Regions from separate parts of the Homo sapiens genome. Here regions 2, 3, 4, 5 and 6 are each linked to region 1. Evidence: promoter capture Hi-C in 16 types of primary human blood cells and fetal thymus (Javierre and others, 2016). All regions are on one chromosome and are shown on one strand. Each heading gives the region's core, a stretch centred on a gene start or on the middle of the fragment in contact. The rest is flanking DNA. Distances are from core to core; before and after follow the strand shown.

What was found. Contacts are between HindIII fragments. The CHiCAGO score rates a contact against its expected background, and 5 or more counts as called.
Region 2: a fragment that was not itself captured here is called in contact with the fragment with the promoter of CDKN1C in region 1 in 9 of 17 cell types (erythroblasts, M1 macrophages, M0 macrophages and 6 more); the score reaches 10.2 in erythroblasts.
Region 3: the fragment with the promoter of KCNQ1 here is called in contact with the fragment with the promoter of CDKN1C in region 1 in 17 of 17 cell types (neutrophils, M0 macrophages, M1 macrophages and 14 more); the score reaches 15.7 in neutrophils.
Region 4: a fragment that was not itself captured here is called in contact with the fragment with the promoter of CDKN1C in region 1 in 3 of 17 cell types (M0 macrophages, naive CD4 T cells and M1 macrophages); the score reaches 5.3 in M0 macrophages.
Region 5: a contact is called between a fragment that was not itself captured here and the fragment with the promoter of CDKN1C in region 1, in 4 of 17 cell types (M1 macrophages, M0 macrophages, erythroblasts and 1 more). The highest score is 6.9, in M1 macrophages.
Region 6: a fragment that was not itself captured here is called in contact with the fragment with the promoter of CDKN1C in region 1 in 2 of 17 cell types (erythroblasts and M0 macrophages); the score reaches 7.4 in erythroblasts.

Annotation. Positions count from the first base shown.
Region 1 is chr11:2,884,329-2,887,028 of GRCh38, reverse strand. CDKN1C (cyclin dependent kinase inhibitor 1C) reads left to right here and starts at 1,254. Exons shown (of 4, transcript NM_001122630.2): 1 at 1,254-1,395; 2 at 1,563-2,359. The coding sequence starts at 1,573. RefSeq lists enhancers at 1-592, 593-1,428, 1,429-2,264. The HindIII fragment of the contact is 9,568 bases long and covers 1-2,700 here.
Region 2 is chr11:2,505,593-2,508,292 of GRCh38, reverse strand. All of the region lies in intron 1 of KCNQ1 (potassium voltage-gated channel subfamily Q member 1), which reads right to left. Among named protein-coding and RNA genes, the nearest start is that of KCNQ1, 62 kb to the right of the region's middle. The HindIII fragment of the contact is 3,057 bases long and covers 1-2,700 here.
Region 3 is chr11:2,443,702-2,446,401 of GRCh38, reverse strand. It overlaps KCNQ1 (potassium voltage-gated channel subfamily Q member 1), which reads right to left and starts at 1,394. Exons shown (of 16, transcript NM_000218.3): 1 at 918-1,394. The coding sequence starts at 1,303. It overlaps TRPM5 (transient receptor potential cation channel subfamily M member 5), which reads left to right and starts at 1,888. Exons shown (of 29, transcript NM_014555.4): 1 at 1,888-1,971. RefSeq lists silencers at 1,405-1,474, 1,485-1,594. The HindIII fragment of the contact is 13,739 bases long and covers 1-2,700 here.
Region 4 is chr11:2,487,337-2,490,036 of GRCh38, reverse strand. The region is part of intron 1 of KCNQ1 (potassium voltage-gated channel subfamily Q member 1); the gene reads right to left. Among named protein-coding and RNA genes, the nearest start is that of KCNQ1, 44 kb to the right of the region's middle. The HindIII fragment of the contact is 3,569 bases long and covers 1-2,700 here.
Region 5 is chr11:2,596,357-2,599,056 of GRCh38, reverse strand. All of the region lies in intron 10 of KCNQ1 (potassium voltage-gated channel subfamily Q member 1), which reads right to left. Among named protein-coding and RNA genes, the nearest start is that of KCNQ1OT1, 100 kb to the left of the region's middle. The HindIII fragment of the contact is 572 bases long and covers 995-1,566 here.
Region 6 is chr11:2,572,264-2,575,058 of GRCh38, reverse strand. KCNQ1 (potassium voltage-gated channel subfamily Q member 1) reads right to left here. Exons shown (of 16, transcript NM_000218.3): 6 at 2,073-2,213. Among named protein-coding and RNA genes, the nearest start is that of KCNQ1OT1, 130 kb to the left of the region's middle. The HindIII fragment of the contact is 2,481 bases long and covers 305-2,785 here.

The DNA.
Region 1 (2,700 bases), core at 5-2,504:
ACAGGTGTCTGACAGTCCCCATCCCGATCTGGGAGGCTCCTGGTTTGAGGAGGGGGCTCCCTGCCTCATGGTAGGTGGGCCAAAAGGGAGGCAGCAGGAAATAATGGTCTCTTTTGGTCTGGCCTGGCTGGGGTGAAGCACCGTGTGTGTGCGTGCGTGTGTGTGTGTGTGTGTGTGTGCGTGCGCGCACGACCGAGGTCTGTACCAGGAAGGGCTGCAGGCGGGGGAGGGGCATGGTCCTTCACAGCCCCTTCCCCTATGACCTCGGGCAGATCTTTCACTTTTACCCAGTACAACAGCTTCCAGCCAGCCTGGACAGGCAGATCCCGGGGCTGGAGTGGTCTGGCCCAAGGCTGAGAAGGGCTGGGACCCCCGACAGTGACATGATGGGCTCAGCCCCTGTTCCATCTACTGGGCAGGGTGGGCCTCCGCAGATAGCGGCTTCAGACTCCAGCTCCAGGGGGCTGGTGGGAGTCTCTCAAGGTGTCCCACACATGGTCCCTCGGGGAAAGAGTGGAGCTGACCCCTGTCCCCCCTCCCGACTCGAGGGCCTTAGGGCCAGCAGGTGTGTGAGGGCTCCAGGCGCGCGGAGCCCTCGAAGGGACACCAGCCCAGCAGCAGCAGGCCGCGCGGGGGCAGCCGAAGACCCCATCCGGCGCAGGCCAGGGCCGAGCTGGCAGCGGCGGGTCCAAGCCTCGTCAGCTGGCGCAGGAGGCCCACGGGCGAGCGCGGGACGGAGCTGGGCGCCGGGGTCCGGACCGGGCCGGGGTCGAGTTGGGCCTGGCCGGACACCGGACCCGCCAGGAGCCGGCCCCTGCCGCGCTGGGCTGAGGCCCCCGCCTGCAGACAAAGGAGCCGGCGGGGGGCGGGAGCCGGGGGGGTGGGGGAGTGTTGCAGGGGGGATGGGGCGAGGGGGCGGGCGTCGCGGTGTCACGTTACCGCCCGCAGCGCCCTTTAACTCCCGCCCCCGCCCCGCTCACCGCCCCCTTCCCCTGCTACAGCGCGCTCGCCCCGCGGCCGCCAATCAGCCGCGCGCCCCGGCCGCGCGCCCCGCCCCGCCCCCGGTGGGTGTGCGCGCGGCCAATGGGCGGTGCGCGGGGGCCGGGCCGCGGCGGGGCGGGGCAGCGGGGCGGCCGCCAATCGCCGTGGTGTTGTTGAAACTGAAAATACTACATTATGCTAATCGCGGCCGGGCCCGCGCGCACGGGGGTGGGGCCCGCGCGTATAAAGGGGGCGCAGGCGGGCTGGGCGTTCCACAGGCCAAGTGCGCTGTGCTCGAGGGGTGCCGGCCAGGCCTGAGCGAGCGAGCTAGCCAGCAGGCATCGAGGGGGCGCGGCTGCCGTCCGGACGAGACAGGCGAACCCGACGCAGAAGAGTCCACCACCGGACAGCCAGGTAGCCGCCGCGTCCCTCGCACACGCAGAGTCGGGCGGCGCGGGGTCTCCCTTGCGCCCGGCCTCCGCCCTCTCCTCCTCTCCTTTCCCCTTCTTCTCGCTGTCCTCTCCTCTCTCGCTGCCCGCGTTTGCGCAGCCCCGGGCCATGTCCGACGCGTCCCTCCGCAGCACATCCACGATGGAGCGTCTTGTCGCCCGTGGGACCTTCCCAGTACTAGTGCGCACCAGCGCCTGCCGCAGCCTCTTCGGGCCGGTGGACCACGAGGAGCTGAGCCGCGAGCTGCAGGCCCGCCTGGCCGAGCTGAACGCCGAGGACCAGAACCGCTGGGATTACGACTTCCAGCAGGACATGCCGCTGCGGGGCCCTGGACGCCTGCAGTGGACCGAAGTGGACAGCGACTCGGTGCCCGCGTTCTACCGCGAGACGGTGCAGGTGGGGCGCTGCCGCCTGCTGCTGGCGCCGCGGCCCGTCGCGGTCGCGGTGGCTGTCAGCCCGCCCCTCGAGCCGGCCGCTGAGTCCCTCGACGGCCTCGAGGAGGCGCCGGAGCAGCTGCCTAGTGTCCCGGTCCCGGCCCCGGCGTCCACCCCGCCCCCAGTCCCGGTCCTGGCTCCAGCCCCGGCCCCGGCTCCGGCTCCGGTCGCGGCTCCGGTCGCGGCTCCGGTCGCGGTCGCGGTCCTGGCCCCGGCCCCGGCCCCGGCTCCGGCTCCGGCTCCGGCCCCGGCTCCAGTCGCGGCCCCGGCCCCAGCCCCGGCCCCGGCCCCGGCCCCGGCCCCCGCCCCGGCCCCGGCCCCGGACGCGGCGCCTCAAGAGAGCGCCGAGCAGGGCGCGAACCAGGGGCAGCGCGGCCAGGAGCCTCTCGCTGACCAGCTGCACTCGGGGATTTCGGGACGTCCCGCGGCCGGCACCGCGGCCGCCAGCGCCAACGGCGCGGCGATCAAGAAGCTGTCCGGGCCTCTGATCTCCGGTGAGCCCCGCACGGCCCCGCCCCGGCCCGGCCCGGCCCCGCTTTGTCCGGCCGGCCGGTCCCCCCAGCCCTCGGGGGCCTCGCTGGGTTCCCGCCTCCTCCCGTGGCATTAAAGGGCCCGCAGCGCTCAGGGCGCGGCTGCGCCCTTACCCCCCTCCCCGCCCCGTTGTTGTGCCCTCCAGCGGCTTCGCGCGGGCGGGGTGGGAGGCTGAATCCCGGCCGCGACCCCCCGGGAGCGCAGTTTTCGCCCCCGGCCGCGGGAGCCCCTCCCCGGGCGCGGCCGGGCGCCGTGAGCACGGCGTGGAGGGGGTTAAGCGCGGCGGCGGCCCCGGGGGGCTTGG
Region 2 (2,700 bases), core at 201-2,700, 380 kb after region 1:
CGGCAAGTCAGACAAGCCAGTATGGTCCCCACAGGAGCCCAAAGACCCTTGGTGACCACCATGGGTTGGTGGAGGTTGTGGTACCTCAAACATGCATGCCTAGTGTTTGCAAACCTCACCTTCAGCAGCAGCATCCCTGGGAAACCCCAGCTCCACTGCCGTGGGGCCAAGGCAACACAGACCCCTGCTGGGGCCCAGGCCAGCTCTGTGGGGCCGAGCTGGGTGTTTGTGTCTGAGAGGTTTCAGGGCAGGGTCCCAGCCTCCATGTACGGGGCTGGGACCCACCAGGACCCAGACTCCCACATACGTGTGTGGAATAAAACTCATAACCCCACATCACCAAGTCAAGGCCAGTTCCAAAACCTCTCAGGAGGGCTCAACACAGAGTCCTTTGTTCTTCCTCCATTGCCCCTGTGGAGGCTGCAGGACACCCAACCTCCCGGACTTGCCTTCCTTGCCCTCAGCCTCCACAGCTGCCATCACTTGGCCCTTGCCCTCTGCCCTTCCACCCACCCAGGCTACAGGAGGCCCTGTCTAGCCCCTGCGCTCATGTCATTTACACACTGACACCTCCCCTAACTTGTGAGCCCAGCCCGCACTCTCTCCCCAGAGCTCCCACCTGCAGGTCTTACTGCCTTCAACCCACCTCACCTGGCTGCCTCACAAACACCTCCAAAATAACATGTCCCCAGCTGGACTCCTTCGCCCCAACCCTGACCCATGTCAGAAACAGAAAGTGCATCCTCCCAGGTGCGAGGGGTCCCAGCAGCATCCTTTTCTCTTCCTCCCGCTGCACCCGCCACCTTATCTACCTGCAAACCCTGTTTTCTACAGCAGTGGTCCTGACTTCTCACCCTTCCTTCAAACCCTCTAGAGCAAACCACGCCGTCCCATCCCACAGCCACCTCAGTCACAGCCTCCTGCGCATCTCGTGTCCTGCCCGATGACCCCACACTCCATGCTCCACTTAGAGGCCAGAGGGGCCTCGTGAAGGCCCCAGCCAGTGGGGTGAACTTCTAAGGAAGAGGTCTCAGGCCACTCTCTGAGAAAAGATTACCTTAGATCATGCACAAGAGCAAACTCCAAACGGACAAGGAGCTAAATGCTGAAGACAAGACCCCAAACCTCCAGAAGAAAACACAGTGGATTCCCCTTAACCTCGGTGGAGGAAAAAGCTCTCAACTGTGGCCCTGAATCCGGAGTCAGTAGAAAGAAGCATGATAAATTTGATGATATAAACATGCGAAATTTCTCATAGCAAAAAGCACCATAAGCAAAGTCAAAGACAAGTGACCAGCTGGGAAAACAATTCACATTAGTCCAGACAAACGTTCCCACAATATAAATGACTTAAAAATTGAGAGACCAAGAACCAAAAACCCAATGGAAGAAGTTGGAAATGAGAAGACAGACGATTTACAAATACACACACACATGACTTTTAGACACAGGGAAAACATTCAAATTCAATGTAATTACAGAAATACAGATTAAAACAAAGCTATGGACCTGGCAAAAAGTGGTGTGACAGCACGCTGCTGGCGCAACTGTAGAAAAAACCGGTATGCTCATGCATTGCTGGGGGAGTGCAAATGTGCAACCGTTCTGCAGGGAAATTTGGTCACATCCAACAAAACTACGGGCTTCTCTTTCAGCCCAACACTCCCATTTCTAGGAATCTACCCTGAAGATAACACCTCCAACAATAGGAACATCCATACCTACGAAGTTATTCTTTGCAACATTGTTTCAAGAATACAATAGACATATGTATAAGGCTATACTTTGCAACATTATTTATCATTGCACAATATCAGAACAACCTAAATGCCCATAAATAGGAGAGGGTTTGAATAAGCATGGCACATCCAACCATAAAGTATGGGGTGGCTGTAAAAAAGAATATGGAAGGACCCCACGAACTGATATGTAGTGGTCTCTAGGAAATACTATTACGTGAGAAAAGCAAATTCAAAAAGTTCACGTATAGTCTTTTCGACAAATGATGGTGGGATAACTGAGTATCTACATGCAAAAGAATAAAGCTGGATATAAAAAATTAACTCAATATGGGTCAAAGGTATAAATGTAAGACCTAAAGCAATAGGAACACATAGGAGAAAATAGAAAGACTTTGGATTTGAGGATGATTTCTTGAATACGACATTGAAGGCACAGGCTCCGGTGAACAGTGCCGCAGTAAACGTAGGAGTGCGCATCTGTCCCTGCTGGACTGATTTTCTTTCTTTTTGGATATATAACTAGCAGTGGGATTGCTGGATCACAGGGGCTAAGCACGTGGACAAATTAAATTTTATGAAAATGTAAAGTCTGTATATCAAAAGGTGATATCGGCAGTGGCAGAATAGATAAACATGATCCAGCTACATGCTGTCTACTAGAGACTCGCGTTAGAGCCAAAGACACAAAAAGATTGAAAGTGAAAGGGTGGAAAGAGTGGAGAAAGAGGTTCCATGCAAATGGCAAACACAAAAAGCAGAGTGGCTACACTAACATCAGCCAAAAATGGTTTTATAATAAACCTAGAAAGGTCACAAGAGACAAAAGAGGACGCTGCACACTTAAAGGTTCGAGGCTGCAAGAAGATGTTACAGATAACCATTATAAACATTTATGCCTCTAACAGCTAACGATCAAAAGACACAAAGGAAAAATTTACAGAACCGAAGGGAGAAATAG
Region 3 (2,700 bases), core at 145-2,644, 440 kb after region 1:
AGCCATGGGATGTCTGGGTAGAGGCTCCCAGGCCAGAGGCTGGCACCACACCAAAAGGCCGCTGGCTGGGCAGCCAGGAAGTAGGGCCACTGGGGCAGCGGGGGAAGGCCCCAGGCAGGCATGGAGGAGAGCAGCCTGGACCTTCCCGGAGGTGACTTCCCAGGCCTGTCCCTGAGAAATCCAGTGCCCAGCCCTGCTCAGGCACGCTGTACCGGGAATTGGAACCACCTGGTAACAGGGGGGCCAGGTGCCTCTGCTACCAGCGCTGCTTTCTCCGGGAGCACAGCTGCCTCTTAGTGAGAGCTGCAAACGTGCCTCTCCGCTCTCTGCATCAAGCCAGGTTTTCATGAGCTTGGTTCAATTAGTTAATGTGGGGCCCGTGGGGACGGCCCGTGGCATGCTGAGCCCTCAGGGAGCACCGCCACCGTCACCTTCCTATCCTGGACAGCCCCCTGCCCCAGAGTCCACCTGGGCCTCAGGGGGTCTGAGATGCGGCACCGGACATCAGGGGCCTTCTCTCTTGGGGGCTCCTGAGCCTCGAGTCTCAGCCGACCTTGAGGAGTTATCTTACTGCACCCAAGGGTGCGCTCCCCAGCACGCTTCTCTTCCCAGAAGGATTCACACCTGGACTACCCTCCCGGAGGTGTGGAGCCAAATTCTGGGCTCCAGGTGGTCCCCTCCCCAGCCGGCTCCCTCCCCACGCCGGGCCTGCGAGAAGATGCGCACCCCCAGACACAGCAGCGCCTCTGAACTTCAAGGGAGAGTGCAGAGTTTGTGTTTCTGCGTTTCCCCACTTCCTTCCCTCCTCTGCTCCGGGGTCGCAGCTCCGACGGGGCAGGTGGCGCTGGGACAGAGCTCCCCCACACCAGCTCTCAGGAAGCACCTTCGTGCCGGCCGTCGCCGGTGGCGATACTCACACGGCGAAGTGGTAAACGAAGCATTTCCAGCCGGTGGGACGCTCGAGGAAGTTGTAGACGCGGCCCTGGACGTGGGTGCGCGCCAACACCGGGCGGCGCGTGCTGTAGATGGAGACGCGCGGGTCTAGGCTCACCGGCGGCCGCGGGCCAAGGTCGGAGGCAACTGGGGGCGCGGCGGGCGCGGCCGGGGACGCAGGGGGCGCGGGACCTGGGGCGCCGGGCGCGATGGGCGCGTAGAGCGCGCCGCCCGCCGGGCCGCCCTCCGCCAGCTCCAGCGAGAAGGGGCACTTCTTGGCCAGGCCCGCGCTGCCCCGCCGGGCGCCTGGCAGGCGGCCCCAACCCCAGCGCTTCCTCTCGGCCCTGGGCGGGGAGGAGGCCGCGGCCATAACGAGGAGGGCCTGCCGGGGGGCCGGCCCGAGCGGCGGCACCGGGAGCTGCAGCGAAGGCGAGCGCCCGGGCGCAGTGCGGGCAGCCACTGCTGCCAGCCCCGCCGCGGGGGGCCGCTGCCGGCCCAGCCCGGGCGCTCGGGGCGGGGCCGGAGGGGGCAGTGGCCGAGGGCCGGTCCCATGGGACGGCGTGCCCCGCCCCCGCCTGCACGCCCCGCCCCCGCCGGTCCGGCGCGCACAGGGCGTCCCTGCCCGCGCCCACCGGCTTGGCCCGCCCTCTCCCCACGGACCGGCCTGGCCCTGCCTCCGCCTCACCCCCTGGCTTGGCCTGTCCGCGCCCCCGCCCCCGCCTGCGCCCCCGCCCCCACCCCCACCCCCGCCCGAGCCCACCTGCTTAGCCCCGCTCGTGTCATCTATCCCGCTTGGCCCCGCCCCCTCCTCGCCCACCTGTTTGGCCCCGTTCCAGTGTGCATTTACCCCGCCTGGCCCCGCCCCCTCCCCGCCCACCTGCTTGGCCCCGCCCTCACCCACCTGCTTGGCCCCGCCCCGTCTGCATCTCCCCTGCTTGCTCCTGCCCTGCCCTCACCCACCTGCTTGGCCCCCACTTCTGATGCCCGCCTGCTCTGCCTGGCCCGGAGGAGGACCCCAGCTGCGCCAGGGAGGAAGGGGTAAGGCCTGGCCGATACCACGACCGAGAACGGCACAGCGGGGGCAGGAGGGGCGGGGTAGGGTGCCGGCATCTACTTTCCCTCCCTCTGAGCCACTCCGGAGTTGGGGTTGGGGGGAGGAAAGGGATGTCCTGGGTGAGGGTGTGCTGGCCCCGCGATCACTGTGAGCGCCCCCGGGTGCCCAGGCGCGCGAGCTGCGGGCGGCGAATACGCTCGGGTCGCTTCCCACCAGGGCCCTTGGACCGGGAGGGTGAGATGGGACCACCACTGTCAGGTACCTCCCAGTGGGAGCTGTGTGGGTGGGGAGCCGGCAGGGCTGCTGGGGGGTGGGGGCGGCACAGCCGGGGTCTGGACCTGGTTTGACTGCCGGGCATAGCAGGCGGGGCTGCCTGGGCAGTTAAAGGGAGAGGCGCTTGCGCCACCCTAGTAACTTGGAGAATGGGCGCCTTGTCCTCCCCACCGTCGAGACCGCGCTGCCGCTGCGCCCCGTGGATTCCCCTGGGTGGGGGTGGGTTGGTCACATCGGAAGATTTTCACAGGTCTCTGCACTGCCTCCCGCCCGCTACTGGCATTTGGGTCTCAGCACGTCTCAGGCTTGGGGGGGGGGTGGGGGGCAGCCAACAGAAGAGACCGGCTTTTTTCAGGATACTGCACACAGCCCTGAGGCAGGGACTAAAGGTGGAGCTCAGCGGTGACTCTCCGCCCCGCCAGGAGACCCATAACTCATGT
Region 4 (2,700 bases), core at 38-2,537, 400 kb after region 1:
GGCTCCCTTCTGGCCTAGAGCAGGTCCAGAAATGCTGTCCAAGAGCCAAGGCCTGGAATCAGGGACCCCAAGAGCCCATTTGGTGCTCTACCCCACTGTGGTCAAGCTGGTACCTGAAGCCAGTATATTTCAGAATCTCATTCAAGGCCCACAGGATACTACCTGGCACTGCTGGTTGTTCAGGGTCCAAGGGCTCTTTAGTCAGCTGATGATGAATTCTGACAAGACTAGGTCCTTCCCTCCAAGGCAGTGGATTCCCTTCTGGCCCAGGGTGTGTCTGGAAATGTCCAAGAGCCAGGGCCTGAAATGTGTGCCCATTGACTCTGCCCAGTGTCCTCTCCTACTGTGGTTGAGCTGGTATCCAAGATGCAAGACAATGTTCTCTTTACTGCTCCATCTCCTCTCTTTAAGCAGAGGAAAAGAGTCACTTTTGTTTCTGTGAGCTGTGCTGCCTGGGGTTAGCCACCCTGGCTGGTGTCTCACTAGGTTGTGTGCCCCCCACATCCACTGGCTCTGAGCCCATCTCAGCAATAGGACTTGCCTAGGAATTGCAGTTATTGTGGCCTAGACTGCCTTACAAGTTTATTTAGAACCCCAGAGCACTTTAGCCCGTGGTGGCAAGGTTTTCTGGAACTCAGTTTCTGACCCCTGAGATATGTGATTCCCCTCTGGCTAGGGCTGGTTTAAATGCTCCCTCTGTGCTGGGTGTGGGCTGAATTTAGCCTGGTTCTGCTTTCTGTGGCAACAGGGAATCACTGAGCTCGATGGACAGTCCCAAAGCACTGCACTTTCCCTCCCCCAAGCTCTCAGATTCTCTCTCCATGCCACATAGCTGGGGGATGGGAGGCACAGTGCTGTCAGTGATTCAGTACTGTCTCTCTTGCCCTCTTCAGTGCCTCTTCCAGCAATATAAAGTTAAAAGCAGATACTGTGATTGCTTATCTGAATTTTGGTTCTTATGAAGGTGCTTTTTTGTGTAGATAGTTCTCAAATTTGGTGTTCCTGTTGGGGAGGACAATTGGAGGCTTCTATTTGGCCATCTTGCTCCACTCCCTCCCTATAAATTGTTACATTAATAAACAAGAAAGATCTCCAGTAAATAACCTAACTTTACCACTTAAGGAACTAGCAAAAGAACTAAACCCAAAGCTAGCAGAAGAAAGAAGATAATAAATACCACAGCAGAGACCAACAAAATAGAGAATAGAAAAACAATAGAGAAAAATCAATTAAATCAAAGTTGCTTCTCTGAAAAGATTTTAAGAATTGACAAACCTTTAGCTAGATGGACTAAGTAAAAAAGAGAGAAGACTACTGAAATCAGAAGTGAAAATAGGGACATGACTATCAATTCTACAGAAATAAAAAGGATTATAAGAGAGTATTGTGAACAATTGTGTATCAACAAATTGGATAACCTAGATGAAATGGACAAATTCTGAGAAACACGAAACCTACCAAAACTAAATCACAAAGAAATACAAAATCTTCATGGACCTATAACTAGTGAGGAGATTGAATCAGTAATCAAAAAACTCTCAACAAAGAAAAGCCTGGACCTGATGGCTTCCCCAATGAATCCTACCAAATATTTAAAGAATAAACTCCCATCCTTCTCAATCTTTCCCAAAAAATTAAAGAGGAGGGGAAAGGTTTCTAACTCATTCTATGAGGAGAGCATTACTCTGATACTAAAGCCAGACAAAGACTACAAGAAAACTACAGACCAATATCCCTTATGAAAACTGATGCAAAATTCTCAACAAAATAGCAAACTGAGTTCAGAAACATAGTTAAAGTATTACATATCATGACCATGTGAGATTTAGTCCTGGAATGCAAGGATGGTTCAACATACAAAAATAAATCCATGTAAAAGAGCATATTAACAGAATGAAGAAATAACACTCACATGATCACATGATCTCAATTGATACAAAAAGCATTTGACAAAATTCAACATCCTTATTAAAAACTCTCAACAAACTAGGAATAGAAGGAAACTACCTTAACATAATAAAAACCATATGTGAAAATCCACAGCTAACATCATAATGATGAGACTGAAATTTTTCCCTCTAAGGTCAGGAATAAGGCCAGGGTGACCACTTTCACCACTTCTATTCAACATTGTACTGAAAATTCTAGCCAGAGCAATTTGGCAAGAAAAAAATTAAAAGAAATAAAAGGCATCCAGAATGGAAAAAAAAGACGTAAAACTATTTCTATTCACAGATAACATAATCTCATATGTAGAAACCCCTAAAGATTCCACAAAAACTTATTAGAGCTAATAAATGAAGTCAGCAAAGTTACAGAATCTAAGGTAAACATGCAAAATCAGTTGCATTTCTATATGCTAACAATGAACAATCTAAAAATGAAATTAAGAAAACAATTTAATTTATAATAGCATCAAGTAGAATACTTAGGAATTAACTTAACCAAGGAGGTAAAAGACTTCTGCAGCAAAACCCACAAAACATTACTGAAAGAAACTTAAAAAGATGCAAATAAATGGAAACATATCCCATGTTCATGGATTAGAAGACAATGTTGAGATATCAATACTACCCAAAGTGATTTATAGATTCAGTGCAATCCCTCTCAAAATCCCAATGACACTTTTTGCAAAAATAGAAAAACCCATCCTAAAATTCATATGGAATCTCAAGGAACTTAAAATAGCCAAAAGCAATA
Region 5 (2,700 bases), core at 31-2,530, 290 kb after region 1:
TGTAAAGTTAAAGTGTGAATATTGGAAAGTAATACAACATTAAGGACACTAAAAGAAAGAATAGCCCCTATTCAGATCTGGTATTGATAGAGCCTGAGGCCAATTTGGCAGCAGACAGAGACACAAGACTGTTTGCTGCATATGGGTCCTGGGTGAGCACTTACATGTTCTAACTCACTCAGTCAACACAGGAGTCCTGGGAGCAGGCAGTTAGGATCCTGATTTCACAGATGTGGAAACTGAGGCACAGAGAATGCAGTAGCTTGCTTAGGGCCACATAAGAAAATGGCAGAGCTGGGCTATGACCCTAAAGAAGGTTGGCCATATAGGCTGTGCTCCAAACCACTCCATGAAACCTGCCACTCAATTTTTAGAAACATAATTGTACAGGAAGATTTAATTTTCCTGTCTCAGAATTTGGCAGATGTATTAGGGTTTTTTTTTTTTAACTAAGGGCAGAGCAGACCTAAATGAGGCAATGAATAAGTATGTATACACAATCCATCTCAATGTACATTTTGTCTGTCCATGTATACAAATAAAACTTTGTGTTATACAAATACAGAAGATATTTTCTGAGGTCTGTGGAGCATTTACAAAAATAATGATGTTATTTTCATACTTGGAGACAAAGAAAATCTTCATTTTAAAAAAAGTGGAGACTTCATAGGCTACATCCTTTCACTGTAAGCCTACTAAATTAGAAATAAATAACAGTGATAAAAATTTACTGCTTAAAAATTAAGAAGACATTAAAAGAACTCTAAAGAGAAAAATCAAAACACAAAATTAAAACTATCAAGAAAGCAATGAAAAGGAACATATTTCATAATCAGATCTACGTGTCACAGCTAAAGCTGCAATCAGAGGAAAATTTATAGCCTTTAAAAATGCCTTTAGTAGAAGAACTTCAAATAAATGAACTATGACTCTTAAGTAAAAGAAAACAAAAATAGAGTTAGCCAAGAAAAGGGAATTAATAGCTATAAAAGCTTAGATTAATGAAATAGATAACAAAGAGTACAAAGATAGTTTTCTGATAATAAAATATAAATAAAACATAAATTTCTCATGTGCTTGATTAAGAAAAAAGGAGAAAAACCACAAAAGTTCAGGCATAAAGGAAAAGAAAAACGAAGAGATGATAGAGAAGACCATAAAATCACTAAAGGAAAAAATCAGTTGCTACCAAGTGGCAACACAATTGAAATGCTTGAGGAAATTAAATAGCAATGAATAAATTACTCCAAAAGATGCAATAAACTAATTTAGAACAACATATCATAAAACAGACTAAAAAGAAATTACTAAAGATATCCTATAAAACATGTATCAGGCCCAGATGGTTTTACAACTCAATTCTATTTAACCTCTACAGAAAAGATAATCCCAATGTTCTTCAAACAGTTCCAAGACACAGAACAAGGAAGGTAGATAAAACTTTGTTTTGTAAACCATTGTATTTGCCCCCACATGATGGCAGATTTCATACTCTTCTGAAAGATGTACTGTTATTTCTAGGATCAGATATCAGGGATGTCCTGCATCAGTGATGAGAGTGAAGCTTCACAGTTTTGATGGCTGTTTAACGGAGATATGATACTTGAAGCAGACCTCCACTGATGGGTATGTCGGTGGTTTGCAATTTTTTGCTATTTAACAATTGCAGAAATCAATATCCTGATGATGGATTATTTTGCAAATGTGTAAGATATGTGTAGAATAAATTTCTAGAATGATTCAAAGGCATATGCATCTTTAATTTTGATTGAAATTGCCTTATTTATCTCCACAGAGGTTTGTATCAATTTATTTTTCTAACATCAATGACTGAGACTGAGAGTTTCCATGTACACATACCCATAGAGTGTTATCAAACTCTTTGATATTTAATAATCAGATAAGTTTCAAAAACCCCATTGCTTTAGTTTGCATTTCTCTTGTCATAATTGAAGTCATCCAGCATATTTTCATTCTTAAGAATTATTGGTATTTCCTTTTCTGTGAACTGTTTTAATATCCTTTAACTTCTATCTTGATTTACAAGAGCGTTTTTATATAGCAATTAAATTAGCCCCATGCCTATAGGTGAGTGGCAACTGGTTTCTTTAGGTTATCAATAAAAAATTATTTTCAGTATGTTTTTTTGCTATGCAAAATATATATTATATATTTACATTATATATTATAAACAGTTTTATTGAGATATAATTGACATAACTTGCTTATGTTTAAAGTGTGCAATTTGGTAACTTTTGACACATGATGAAACCATCGCCATGATTATGATAATGAACATATCCACTGCCCCAAAAGTTTTTTTGTGCCCTTTTGTCCTTTTCCCTCCTACTACTACCCCTGATCCCCAGGTAACCACTGATAACCACTGACTTGTTTGTCACTCTATATTAGTGGTCATTTTCTAGATTTTTACATAAATAAGATACCATGTACTCTTTTTTTTTTTGTCTGGCTTCTTTCACTCACCATAATTATGTTGCAATGTATCCATATTGTAGGCATATCAGTGGTTCATTCCTTTGTATTTCTAAGTAGTATTCCATTTTAGGAATATACTACAACTTTGAAAAAAATCTATTCAAATGTTGATGGGTATTTGGGTTGCTTCCAGTTTGGGGTTTCCAGTTTTTATAAAGCTGCTATGAATATTCCATGTACAAATGGTGGCATGCATATGAT
Region 6 (2,795 bases), core at 296-2,795, 310 kb after region 1:
CACTGGCTTTTGCTGCACCGCCAGCTCCTCACTGCCCACCTTGCCACCAGCCTCCCGGGAACTCTCCTGGCTCTGGGCCGTCCATCCCCCGAGCACGCCCTACCCATCCACACTCACTGCAGGCAGGCTCCCGCAGGGGGGCTGGGCCCTGCTGCCCAAACCTGCTCAGGCCTGCCACACTGGGGCCTTCGGGGACACAGGCCCCCAGGAAGGCGGGAAGAGGCCGAAAGTGGGGCCTGCCCCAACCCAGGAGCTGTGTCAGCATGCCCCTGCCATCCCTGAGCATTGCAGCACTTTGGAAGCTTCCAGAAAACCTGCTGACTTGGCCTACGTCAGGAGCCACTGCTGAGTGTCTGGCCTCATGGGGGAAGCGGCGGTTGAGGGGGAGGGAGGAGGCACAGCAATCGCAGGGACACGTGCCTGCCTGGGGAGCCACCGGGAGGCTTCTCACCCCACCCAGATATGCTCTGATGGTGGTGGGGGGTCCCGAGAGCCAGCAAGTCCGGTCCTTTCTGGAAGGAGGACTCGGGGCAGACGGACTGGGTCCTGGCACCACCACGTGTTTCCCACGGCTGCCCTGCCCGCCCCCACCTCCAGCCCCCGTGCGGCCCCCAGGCCTTGGCTCCCACCCTGTGTGGGCTTCGACGGCCTCCTCCCCAGCCCCCAGCCCCTGTTGCTACCACGATTCCATCTAACCTGTTATCGGACTGAGTGAGCCCGGAGGTCGGTAGACAAGGGCAGACGCGGGGGCAGGCTTGTGGCGGCAGAGTAGGGGTCACCCTGTCACCTCGGCACTTGGGCTTCTCGGTCCCCACCCAGGGCCACTCCCCAAGGTGTGATGGTGCCACCCTGGGCCTTAGTGGCCTGTGGACGGCCCACCTGGCCCTGCAGCTGTGGGGGGAGATGGGATGGAGTCATTCCCTCCCTGCACTCTGGCCTCCAGCCAGCTACTCCCCTCGGGGTACCCACGTGTTCCCCCTAGAAGCAGCCCTTGAGCTCCATGCATATATAAACGCCGACTTTCACTGGAGGATTTGAAGGCAGCCACCAGCTCCCAGAGGGACACTGGCAAGCTAGGCCTGCCCCCTAAAAATGCCTCAGCCAGCGTCCTCTGAGCCATGAGAAACTGCTGCTGGGCCCACAGGCCAGTGACTTGGGACTTGGGGAGCCTGCAGCTCGGAGGGCGCACCCTGATTCCTGCAGCTGCATCCTCATCGGAACATCTCCCTCTCCCACGTGCAAGCCTGAGTCCCTCAAGGAAGCCCCCACAGACACGGCCCAAGACACCCTGCCCCACCCCTCCCGCACAGCCTCTCTGAGCTTTGGGTGGCTCGGTGTTCCAGTGCGGGATCTGCCTGCTGCACACCGGCTTCCCCAAGGCTCCCGGGCTGCTCTAGGTGGCCGGAACCCACCTTCACAGCCAGGGGCAGCCTCTGGGCCCACAGGCCGGGTCCCTGCTTCCCTAGGCCCAGCTGCACCTATGTCGCCACTGCCCAGGCCCGGCTCCAGAACTTGCAGGCCCAGCATCCACTGGAAACACGGGGGCTCTCTGATCTCTGCTGGGGTCTCTTGAGCCATCATGGTCTTTCCTGTTTGCTGTCTCATGTCTGGCTCCTTGGGGACAGGGGCACTTACAGGGCCTGTGTGGACCCTCAGAGACACGCGAGGTATGCATCTGACGCCGCTCTCCTTGGGCCCTGCCAGGGTGAGGGCCACGGTGGAGGCAGGGAATGGGCAACCTAGGACGATGGCGGGAGGCAGAGCCATGGGGGAGCCGAAACCGCTAAGCCCCCAACACACGCTCCAGTGACCCCTCCGATTTCCCTCTCAAATCTCAAGTTCAAGGATGAGACCATTCAGAACTTCAAGATGGTGATGCCAAAGGACTCAACACTGAGCGTGGGGACCTGTGCCAGCGGCTCCAAGCACAGGTTTGTGGACAGAGGCCTGTGAGCGTGCAGGTGAGAAGCCCCTGCCAAGGCCCGAAGTCTCAAGACACCAGTGCCCAGATGTCCTGCCCACTCCTCAGCCTGAGCTGCCCCTGTCCCCATGCCTGGAAGTTTCCGACTTACCACCCCCCACCACAGCGCATCTGCGTAGCTGCCGAACTCCACGCGGCCTGACTCGTTCACCGCGTCCTTCTCAGCCAGGTACACAAAGTACGAGGAGAAGATGAGGCCCAGGAAGCCGATGTACAGGGTGGTTATCAGCTCCTAGGCCAGAAAACACACAGTGTCGGGCTCCAGGAACCGCAGGCTGGGAGCCTCCTGTGCAGACGCCTAAGGCAGCGAGTCCCAGCGATCACTGGGCGTCCTACGCCGCTCCAGCGCGGTTCACATGCACAGGGCCGGCTTCAATATAGCCCACTCCTCACAACTCCGGTAAGTGGCGGGTGGGGGTTACCCCCAGAATGAGGCTCAGCCCTGGGGTCGCCCTAGGCCCACTGTCTGGGCCGGCGCGGGCTCCACTGATTGCCCAGCTCTCTTTCCTGCCACGTGACAGAACCAAGAATGGACCAGGACCCAGGAGATCCTCAGGGAGAGGAAGGGTCCCCTCACCCCACAGAGCCAGGGGCCAGTGCAGCCTGAACCCATCTGAGTGCAGCCCTCGGGAGGGAGTCTGGTGGCCCTGCCTTGACCGGGTCCTTGATTTGCCTGGGTTTTTCATTTCTGACTTTCTGTCTTCATTTGCCCCCAGCTCAGAGGAAGGTGAGCACACCATCAGCCTGGCAGGCCAGGGTCACTGGCACCAGGCTGGGGTGGAGCATCCAGGCTGGGCTCAAGCTTGGGCTTGCT